Linked DNA regions of Homo sapiens: region 2 is linked to region 1. The links are contacts of gene promoters, found by promoter capture Hi-C in human tissues and cell types (Jung and others, 2019). All regions are on one chromosome and are shown on one strand. Each heading gives the region's core, a stretch centred on a gene start or on the middle of the fragment in contact. The rest is flanking DNA. Distances are from core to core; before and after follow the strand shown. Region 1 holds the start of PSMB7 (proteasome 20S subunit beta 7). Region 2 overlaps NR6A1 (nuclear receptor subfamily 6 group A member 1).

Region 1 (5,240 bases), core at 931-3,430:
CAACATGGTGAAACCCTGTCTCTACTAAAAATACAAAAATTAGTCAGGCGTGGTGGCATATGCCTGTAATCCCAGCTACTTGGGAGGCTGAGGCATGAGAATCACTTGAACCCAGGAGGTGGAGGTTGCAGTGAGCTGAGATCATGCCACTGCACTCCAGCCTGGGTGATAGAGGGAGACCGAGTCTCAAAAAAATAAATAAATAAATAAAATAAAATAAAATAAAATAAAATTCACCTAACGTAGAAGTCACCATTTTAACCATTTTAAAGTGTGCAACTCAGTGGTTTTTAGTGTATTCATAATATCGTGCAACCAATACCACTATGTAATTCCAGAATATTTTCATCATTTTCCAAAAACTCTGCGCCCACTAAACAGTCCTATCCATTCTCTCCTCCTCCCCTAACCCTTAGCAACCAAACATCTACTTTCTGTCTGTGGATTTGCCTATTAAGAACACTTCACATACATGGAATGATACACTATGTGGCCTTTTGTGCCTGGCTTCTTTCCCTCAGTATATTTTTAAGGTCCATCCCTGTTGTAACATGTATCTGTGCTTCAGACTTCTTTATGGTCTAATAATATTCCATTAAATGAATTTACCATATTTTGTTTATCCATTCATCAGTGGATGGACATTTGTTTCCATTATTTGGCTATTGTGAATAATGAGACCCCCCCCTCGCTTTTTTTTTTGAGACGGAGTCTCTGCTCTGTTGCCCAGGCTGGAGTGCAGTGGCGTGATCTCAGCTCACTGCAACTTCTGCCTCCCTGGTTCGAGCTATTCTCCTGCCTCGGCCTCCTGACTAGCTGGGACTACAGGTGCCCACCACCACGTCTGGCTAAGTTTTTGTATTTTTAGTAAAGACGGAGTTTCACCGTGTTAGCCAGGATGGTCTCAATCTCCTGACCTCATGATCCGCCCACCTCGGCCTCCCAAAGTGCTGGGATTACAGGCGTGAGACACCGCGCCCAGCCAATGAGACCCCTTTTGACGCAGGGCAGGTAAGCCCCAAAGTGCGGCTGAGCCCACAAGGGTTCTTGGCTTTGCCCAAGAAAGAATTCAAGGGCAAGTTAGAGGCAGAAGAAAACGGCTTTATTGAAGTGGCGGCGTTACAGCTCCATGACTGCTCCTGCAGAGCAGGGTTACCCTCTTAGGCAGAGTGTCAGGGCAGTTTTGCTGTCATATTTATACACACTTTTAATTACATGCAGATTAAGGGGTGGTTTATGCAGGCATTTCTAGGGAAGGGGTAGTAACTTTTGGTTTATGGTGCCACTGCCATGGAAAGGGGCGGTAACTCACGAGTGTTGCCATGGCAACGGTAAACTGACTTGGCTGGCTGGTGAGCGAGTCTTAGGGAAGACAGCTTCCGTCCAGGCCCTGTTTTAGCTAGTCCTCAATTTGGTCAGGTATCTCAGCCCCATCTCTGAATGGAGGCCTGCCTTCTACCTCACCTTTGTAGAAGTTTTTGTGAATACATGTCTTCAACCCTCTCGGGTGCGTATCTAAGAGGATAATACTTTTTGGGGAACTGCCAAATTGTTTTCCGGAGCAGCCGCACCGTTTTGCATTCTCACCAGCCGTGTATTCGGGTTCCAATTTCTCCACACTCTCGCAACCCTTGCGCTTTTCTGTCTTTTTGTTTATGGCCATCCTAGCGGGTGCGAAGTGGGATCTCACTGTGGTCGTGCTTTGCATTCACCCTATGACTAATCATGTTGAGCCTCTTTTCACAGACTTAATGGCCATTCTACAGCAGCCTTTTGAGCTAGGTTGTAATCTCCATCTGATAGCGGAGGAAACAGATTCAGAGAGTTGAAGAGACTTGCTTAACGCAAGGGGGTGGTGGGGCTGTGCCTGGGACTTGGGTCTGTCTGTCTCTGAAGCACCGCAGAACCAAATTAACGGTAGAAACAAGTCCAGTCTGAGCGGCAGGAGACCTGGTCGCTGGTGCGTTCACCTTGGACAAGTCCTTTCCCGGTTCCGGGTGTCACTTTCTCCTCCGTGCCACTTGGGGCGATATACTTCAAACATCTCTGGCCTCTCTAGGAACCAGAATCTCTAAGATCAATCGTTCTAGTGCGGCGTTTGCCCCGCCCCTTCAGCCCCCGTTGCCAGCGACGCCGGAAGTGCTCGGCTCTTTTTGTTTGCACCCGCCTCCGACCCGGAACTGCTTTCTTGGGAAGATGGCGGCTGTGTCGGTGTATGCTCCACCAGTTGGAGGCTTCTCTTTTGATAACTGCCGCAGGTGCCGCCTTGCTTGGGGCTTGGTTCAGGGAGGGAGAAGAGTGCGGTGCTCGGGTGGGAGCTGGGCCAAGGTGTGATACGAGAATTCTGAGGGAAGAATTCATGGCGGGGCCTGTGGCCCGCGGCTAGTGTGACTCAGGGGAATCAGGGCCTGGGCGTGGGTTTCTCCTGAAGCCGGGTCTGCTCTCCCACCTTCCCAGCGCACTCGGCCACCGTTTATCTCCGTCTCCTAAGGCACGTCACGGCCCCTTTGTAAGACTGTCTTCGTTGGAAAACGGGAGAACAGTGCTGATGGTGGGAGGATTCATTAAACAGATGGGCGTGAAAACAAGTAGCAGCTTTCCTGAGTTCTCTGTTAGGCACTTTTCATGCCAGTGCTGTGCGATGTGGTCCTGCCCTTCAACACTTGATTCTCTCATTTGCTCTTAGGAATGCCGTCTTGGAAGCCGATTTTGCAAAGAGGGGATACAAGCTTCCAAAGGTCCGGAAAACTGGCACGACCATCGCTGGGGTGGTCTATAAGGTAAGCCGGGTTAGGCTAAGAGCAGCAGTGACTGAACCGGCAACAGGAATCAGAACACTTGGCTTCCGGTGTCTCTCCCGGCTCGGTCTGGAAAGGCAAATGCTATAGAATACATCAGGAGACCGTCTTTCAGGAGCGACTGCTTTTGTCAGGTTTTGTGTGCTTCTTAACAGTTTATGTTCTTTCCTCACTTTGCTGAGGTTTTTTCTTTCTTTCTTTTTTTTTTTTTTAAACAGGTCAGTTAGCTTCTTAATTACTAGTTTAGGAAGCTGAAGTATGTGATGGGAGATCACGAGATTTGGGGTCAGACAGGTCTGTCTCACCTTTGAACTCTATAGTGCTGATTCCAACTTCTGGCAGCTCACTTTCCTTCTCACAGGGACACCTTCAGATGCATCAAATGGAGATAACTCCTGCCTTAAATTGTTGGAAACGTCAAAAGGGATAATGATTACCTGTGCAACATGTTTTAAAGAAAAGCAACATGTTTTAAAAGGAAATTGATAGTGATGGCTAATTTAATGGAAAGATTCCTGAGTCTTAATCCAGGTTTTTTCCAGATTAGCTCTGATTTACAAGGAATTTACCCGACACCTGAGCCTCACTTGAAAATGGGAATAATTCTTACCTACTCAGGATTCAATTAGTAGCATTTACTAAGAAACCTTTTCTTAAATCCTGAAAGTGTAGCACAATATTTTTGCTATGAGTTTTGGCTGGCGTTTTGAGATTAGGGGAGCATGTGGTATGGCCAACATAGTATTCCCTAAAGTAGAATAGAGAGTTGCGGTTGGCTTATATTTGTAAAATTGTTTAAAAACTTTTTTTTTTAATAGGATGGCATAGTTCTTGGAGCAGATACAAGAGCAACTGAAGGGATGGTTGTTGCTGACAAGAACTGTTCAAAAATACACTTCATATCTCCTAATATTTAGTAAGTATTGATTCGTTTGAATAACTCTTATATTTTCAAACATGTCAGGGCTAAAAATTGACCTTCCTGTGCTCCTTACTAAAACCTGTTTTTCAACCTGTATTTTCTGTCTCCCTTAAATGGCATTTCCAGCCACCTGTTACCTAAGCCAGTAACTTCAAGTCCTCTCTTTGCTTCAGTCTCCAATTGAATTGGTGGCCAGTTTTGCCCTCTCTGTGCCTCTTGAATCCATTCCCTCCTATCCTTTCCTTTGCTAAGGCTCTAGTTTGGGTTCTTTTTTCTTTTTCTTTTTTTCAAACATTAACTTGAACCATAGAGGTTCTTTTTTCTTAGCTGGACTATTGCAGTTACCATTTAATTGGCCTCTCTTAGGCATCCTATTGTTCACTCTTCTGCCATACTGGATTTTGTAAAACATAGATCTGATGGCATCCCTTTCTTAAAAAGCTTTTCAAGAGACTTGTCACATTTCCACATGGCTTTTAGGATAAAAATCAAAATTCTGTGGCCTTGCACAGTCTCATAGAAAGCCTACCCTTCAAGCGTCTTTTTCAGTTGCCATCACCCTGTGCTCCAGTTACGTCTGAACTGTCCCTATTTCCCTCATCTCCAAGCTATTCTACCGTTGCTTATGTGAGATTCTATTTAGAAACTCTGCCTTCTCTGCTTGTAGAGTGTTTTTATTCCAGCTCATATATAACCTTTTCCTTTTTTTAAACATTTTTTTCGTTCTTTTTTTTTTTTTTTTTTTTTTGGGAGAGATGCGGTCACACTATGTTGCCCTGGCTGATCTTGATCTTCTGGCCTCAAGTGATCCTCCCGCCTGGGTCTCACATAGTGCTGGGATTACAGGCATGAGCCATCATGCCCAGCCTGAAACCTTTTCTTAATGATCAGAATCAATTACCTTCTCCTCCGGTTTCCCGTAGGATTTTGTACCTATGCTATTACTGTGTATTAAATTATGTGTTATAATTTTTGTCTTCTTGTGTATCTTACACTCAACTTTGAGCACAAGGCCTCTCATATTTTCTTTATTCCCAGTGCTTAGTGTAATTACTGGTATCTGATAGTAAATACTTGGTAGATGTTGAATTGCAAGAGTTAACACACCTGGCACTTCTGTACAACTTGGATATATTTGTAGCATTAATGGAATGCACACACTGTTATCACAGAAACCAATAATTTCATGTGTTCCATTGGGCCATAGATAATGTATTTGCATATAACTAGATGCATATTCTCAATTTTCTGTTTATTTAAGGTTGACTAAACAGAGAAGTTACAGCATAGATATACTCAAAAACATCTCTCTGTACCTGAACTTCATGGAAGTTATCCAAGAACCCATTACTTCTAATTGAGCCCTCTGGTAATTGGATTTCAGCTAAGTTTCTAATTGGATTTTTCAGTTGTTGTGGTGCTGGGACAGCTGCAGACACAGACATGACAACCCAGCTCATTTCTTCCAACCTGGAGCTCCACTCCCTCTCCACTGGCCGTCTTCCCAGAGTTGTGACAGC
Region 2 (5,308 bases), core at 2,143-4,642, 100 kb before region 1:
ACCTATTAAACCATTCTGAAGTGCAATATTTTATAGAATATTACTTAGAAAATCTACCGGGGGTTGAGGGGGTGAAGAAAACAGGACAGAAGTTTTTTGGACTACCTGTCAGTTTCAGCTTCCTTATCTATAAAATGAGGGTAAAAAGTAGTACACAGAAATAGTGTGAGAATTCAACGAGGTAATGCATTTAACCACCTAGAACAGAGTTAAGTATTCCCTGAGTAGTAGAATGATGATGAGTTGGCACCATTACTAGGCTCCCTGGGCACCCAAAGGGGTCTGGATGTTAGGATGTTAGCCCAGTGTGTCCAACCTTTGTGATACTCCTGGCACTTCTCTTGCCCCAGTCACTCAGCAAGGTGATACTCTGCCTCCACCAGCCCAAGGAGGCTGACTTGCCTGTCCACTAGAGTGACCACTGCTAACTCTTCTTCTCCCCCCTTGTTCCCAGGAAAGATGGTGAATGTGCCCCTGGAGCAGCTGCCCCTCCTCTTTAAGGTGGTGCTGCATTCCTGCAAGACCAGTGTGGGCAAGGAATGACCTGTTCCAGGCGCCCTCCTCAGGCCAACCACAGCGTCTTGGGTGGGCAGGACAGGCTCTGGAGGGAAAAGCCAGAGAGACCAAGATGGAGGCTGTGGAGCAGCATTTCCCGTTGCCTCCATAGCAAGAAGAGTTTTTGTTTGTTTGTCTGTTTTTTTAACCTCATTTTTCTATATATTTATTTCACGACAGAGTTGAATGTATGGCCTTCAACATGATGCACATGCTTTTGTGTGAATGCAGCCAATGCATTTTCTTACAGTTTACAGAATGTGAAGATGTTTAATGTTACAGTGTTGTCATTGTTTAGAAATAGTTCTTTTGTATTTTGAGGGAGAGGGTGGGATGGGGCTAAGATGACTATTTCCATAATGTTGACAAAGATGACTACCTCAATGGAAATGGGGGGTGTGGCCATCCCTACTTTTTCCACATTTTCTCAGCAGACTCATACATTTGTCTGTCAGAGAGCAAATTGCCTTTTTTAGCCACAGAATTGCCAGATAAAACGGCACACTGTAAGGGGGCAAAGTGTTGTTAGGAGATTCACTAAGCAAGGTTGGTGAGACGGCAACAGGGTAGGAGGTGAGGATTGAGCCACGTCCTTTCCTTGGAAAGCGTGAAAATTAAGAGAGTAGGGCACAGTGACCATATTTAAGGCAGGTGTCCTTCCACCCAACAAGTCCTAAGGGCAGAAGAATTTCTGTTCTCACACCTTGCTGCCCCCCTTACCCCTGCACCACCATCATTGTCTACCACTGCGAACTTTCCATCTAGGCAAAGTCCTGGCAATCACTTGATCCACAGGACTCGCCTCCCAGCTCCCTCGGGGCCCCCAGCTACCTAGTTTCCTTACCTGGATCTCCTGAGGCCCACCTTCCTCCTTCCCACTCCCTTACACATTTGACTTCCTATTGGCCCTTTGAAAAACCAGCTGAGCAGAATGCCATGTTCTGAAGCCTGGTGCCCACTACTGATTTATTCTCCTTTCACCTTGTTTTCTTCAAAGGGTAGTAGGGCAAGGCCAGACTGCAAAAAGAATAGACACTCCCCTTTTGAAATCTGTTCCTCTCCCCTCCCCTTCCTACCGCACCCTCAGGTCTAAATCCGAAAACTTCAGGCTTTTTTAAACAATGAGAAGGACCATTCACCTGTCTGCTGACCAGAAATGTTGCCCCTAAGTTCTTCTCCAAGTTCTCCTTTTCTCTCCAGAGTGAGACCAGTTTTCCTCAGGGACCCAGGACACAAAGCCCAAGGCCCAGAGTGGCTCAGCTGCCCCTTACTTCAGCAGTGGACTGGCCAGCCAAGGCCTGGAGGGCTGGAGCCAGAAGCACCTGGAAGGGAAGGGGGGCTTTAAACTACCTCAGGTTCCTAATGGCCCGGCTGCTACCTCTGCAGACATGGCCTGGACTCCTTGACCTCTCACTACCTGCCCCACCTTATCCCAGGACGTGTTCCTTACCCTCTTGACTTTGGCCAGCGCTACACCAGGTCTGTCTTTGAACTCTTTCAGGTGCTTGTCCTGCCTACACCCAGGTATCTTTCACAGCCAGTGTGGCAAGCAGACCACTTAGTTGGCTGCATGCCTGGGTAGGTTGGAAGGGCCCACGGCACCTTCTTCTGCCTATTTAGTCAAAGGCTGTTTGCTGTCTCCTCAACTCAACCTAGTAAAGCTACCCAGGAGGGCACCACGTCGTGTGCATACTGGGTAGTCCATGTCTGATTGTAATTGTTTCTTTCTGGTGAAATGTTACGGGTACCAGCAGAGTGATGATTTTGGCCCTTGATGGATCTAAAACTCGGAACATTACTCCTCAATGCCGTTTCCCCAGTTGCTCTGAGAAGGAAGAGACATGTTCCTCAGGAAAAGCTCCAGCTAGCATGTTTTTCACGTCAGTGGGAAGATTCTTGTGTGTTCGTGTGTATCTGTTTATTTCTAAGTTCACGATACTTGTTCCCCTGAATTTTATTTAACCAACTAGATCACATTCTTTGGCCACAGGTCAGACTCTGAGCTGCTTTCCTCCAGATCGGGAAGGAGACACATATCACAGATGCCTTCTCTAAGACAGCTCCTGTGTACAGCATCGTTCTTTGCTGAGGCCTCTATCTGTCCAATTATTATTTTTGAAATTGCTTTTCAAATTAAACATTTTACCCGTTGTGTTGGGTGTCAAAAGAAATTGCTCTCTGATGAGGCAAGAACATGTCTCTCCAACAACGTAGTATTGAACAGAGCAAGTTGTTAATTTGTGGAGTAGGGGAAAGGTTCTGCAAGTTGCCATTGTACAAATCCAGTTTTACAAATGTTTGCAGCAGATTCCACAGAACAAAGAGCCCATTCATTGCCGAGAGCCCTGCAGAATCTCAGAGCAAAGTGGCTGTGTGTTCCGAGCCGGAGCCTGACCTGTGGACCGTCTTTAATGTCTTCTGCACCAGTCCTTTTATGACGTGGGCTTTTTTTAAACAGGGTAAAGTGAATGTGTTGCATTGCAAACTCAGGTATTATGAGGAGAAGGTAGGAGTGTAGCTAGCAGCGTGGAGACATTAGGTCAGCCACTAGATGTATTTGTGAATTTGGTTTGAAGGACACGGAGAAAGGTTGGAGGGGAGGTTTGGTGTGTTTGTTTTTTGCTTTCTTCCCCATAATGTTTGGTTAACAGGTAGCCTTTTTGCGAGTGGAAGGAGAGAAAAGTTGTGCATGTTTTCTCTAATTTCTCTTTCTGCCCTCTCTCTGATCCCCAACCACCAAAAGCACTCACTTTGAGTGAGGATTTTTTTTTTTTTTTTTTTTTTTTTTTTTGAGGCGGAGTCTCGCTCTGTCGCTCAGGCTGGAGTGCAGTGGTGCGATCTTGGCTCACTGCAAGCTCCGCCTCCCGGGTTCATGCCATTCTCCTGCCTCAGCCTCCTGAGTAGCTGGGACTACAGGCGCCCGCCACCACACCCGGCTAACTTTTTTTGTATTTTTAGTAGAAACATTGTTTCACCACGTTAGCCAGGATGGTCTCCATCTCCTGACCTCGTGATCCGCCTGCCTCGGCCTCCCAAAGTGCTGGGATTACAGGCGTGAGCCACTGCACCCAGCCGAGTGAGAATTTTTATGCCATAAAAATACGACTCTGAAAGCTACATGGAAAAGGAGAATCCCACCTCCTTGCACTACATTGAAACATGCAAGCCTTTCCCTCCCTCTCCTTTTTGATGTTTTCTTGTCCCAAGACAAAAGTTTGGCATCTTGGAACTTATTCATGCTCTCTGGCTGCCTTTGTAGACTTTTGGAGTCCTTTGCAAGGTTTGGTGGTCTCGTCGTTAATCTGGAGAAATTCCCCAGAATCTGTCTCAAAGCGCTCAACCTGGCTCAGAGGACACCCAGCCCCTATGCCCCACTCACAAGAGAGGTGGGCAAGCCCCCAGGGATAGGAGGAAGTAAGCAGGATCCTCCCTGTCCTGTTTCCCAGAACCAGAGCAAGGAATGGGGAATCCTAAGGGTTTCTGTGGCATCACTGAATGTCACCCACTCCACATCAACCTGCCTCTCACCTGCCACCCTTTTTCAGGGAGGTGAGTACCTGCCATGGTCACTGTTACCAGATCCTTAAAATCCTGGGCTCTGAGCTAGGTGCATTGCTCTGTTACCCATTTCCTACATTTGTTTGTTTGTTCTTGATTTCCTGGGGGAATGGGACTGATGGAGACAGACAAACCCACTGTGGGCAGCATCTAAGCCATGTCCAAGGTTGGTCGAATTAAGGGAACCCTGGCCTCTCAGCAGGACAGAAAGCTGAGCTGTGGTTCCAGGCCCTCCTCTCTGGGCCCCTGGTGTGTATCTTTTTTCCTTGTTGCTTTTGAAATTTTTGCAATTATTTTAAGAATCCAGTCTTTCAGACCAGCCCTTTTATTAAGCTTTGAATTTTTAATTGATTTTTTTAAAGTAAAAAAAAAAAAAACCCAAAAAACAAACAAAATTTAACAAAAAAATCCGCTACTCTTACTCCCCTGCCTCCCCCTACCCCAGCCCATGAGAGTTCCCTTGCACTCCCCTCTGCCTTTGCAACTGATCATCCTCCCTTTCTCCTTGGCTTGAAGCATCTATGTCCAGTATCTGTGAAATGATGTTTTATCTGTGTGTCAGGATGAGAAACGGCAGTCATTCCACCAAGTGTTGGAAACTGGTTAGCCTGGAGACAAGGGTTTCTGGGGCCACAGCTCAGGGATGTGTATTTAATTACAGGATCCCCAGAAACTCCTCTCTAGGCTGCCACAGCAACATTTTTTCTGGGCTTGGGAGCCATACCTGAACTGTTTCCTCCAAGGCGGGAACTCCAGAGAGCCTGCCAAGTCTGGAGCAAGCTGGGGCTTCTGCTTTGGCCAGACCTGGGCCACCATGAGACTTGAAGGCTTCTAGCTGTCCTACGACACGAGCCACGGTGGCCCTGCCTCTCCCCGCTCATAGAAGCCTGGTCCCTCTGTCTAGCCCAGTTCCCATCTAGCATCCGTCTTCTGGGCCTGAAGCCCTAAATGGACCACAGCCTGCACAGGAATCAACTGTAGGCTCAAAGGGAGGCGGTGAGTAAGGTCAGAGCCTGCTCCAAGCCCAAGAACAAAAGTTGTGTTATGGGTGGAGGCTAGTCCCCCAGATCTAGCCCTGCCGTCTTTGCCCTTTAATGACCATTGTTTTCTTTCTCTAAAATGTCTTGTAATAGGTGATAATGTTGTTGATTCAAATTTCCATGAAAAAGAAAAAAAAAACTACCTCTTAAGCGAC

Evidence for each region. The method cuts DNA at HindIII sites, captures the fragments that hold promoters and counts their contacts. A contact is called where the count stands out against the background at its distance.
Region 2: a fragment that was not itself captured here is called in contact with the fragment with the promoter of PSMB7 in region 1 in 2 of the 25 tissues and cell types used here (IMR-90 fibroblasts and hippocampus).

The regions. Positions count from the first base shown.
Region 1 is chr9:124,412,382-124,417,621 of GRCh38, reverse strand. It overlaps PSMB7 (proteasome 20S subunit beta 7), which reads left to right and starts at 2,180. Exons shown (of 8, transcript NM_002799.4): 1 at 2,180-2,258; 2 at 2,687-2,780; 3 at 3,617-3,714; 4 at 5,130-5,240. The coding sequence starts at 2,197. RefSeq lists enhancers at 2,224-2,273, 4,782-5,240. The HindIII fragment of the contact is 5,075 bases long and covers 1-3,445 here.
Region 2 is chr9:124,517,940-124,523,247 of GRCh38, reverse strand. It overlaps NR6A1 (nuclear receptor subfamily 6 group A member 1), which reads left to right. Exons shown (of 10, transcript NM_033334.4): 10 at 455-5,308. The coding sequence ends at 543. Among named protein-coding and RNA genes, the nearest start is that of NR5A1, 13 kb to the right of the region's middle. The HindIII fragment of the contact is 3,650 bases long and covers 1,568-5,217 here.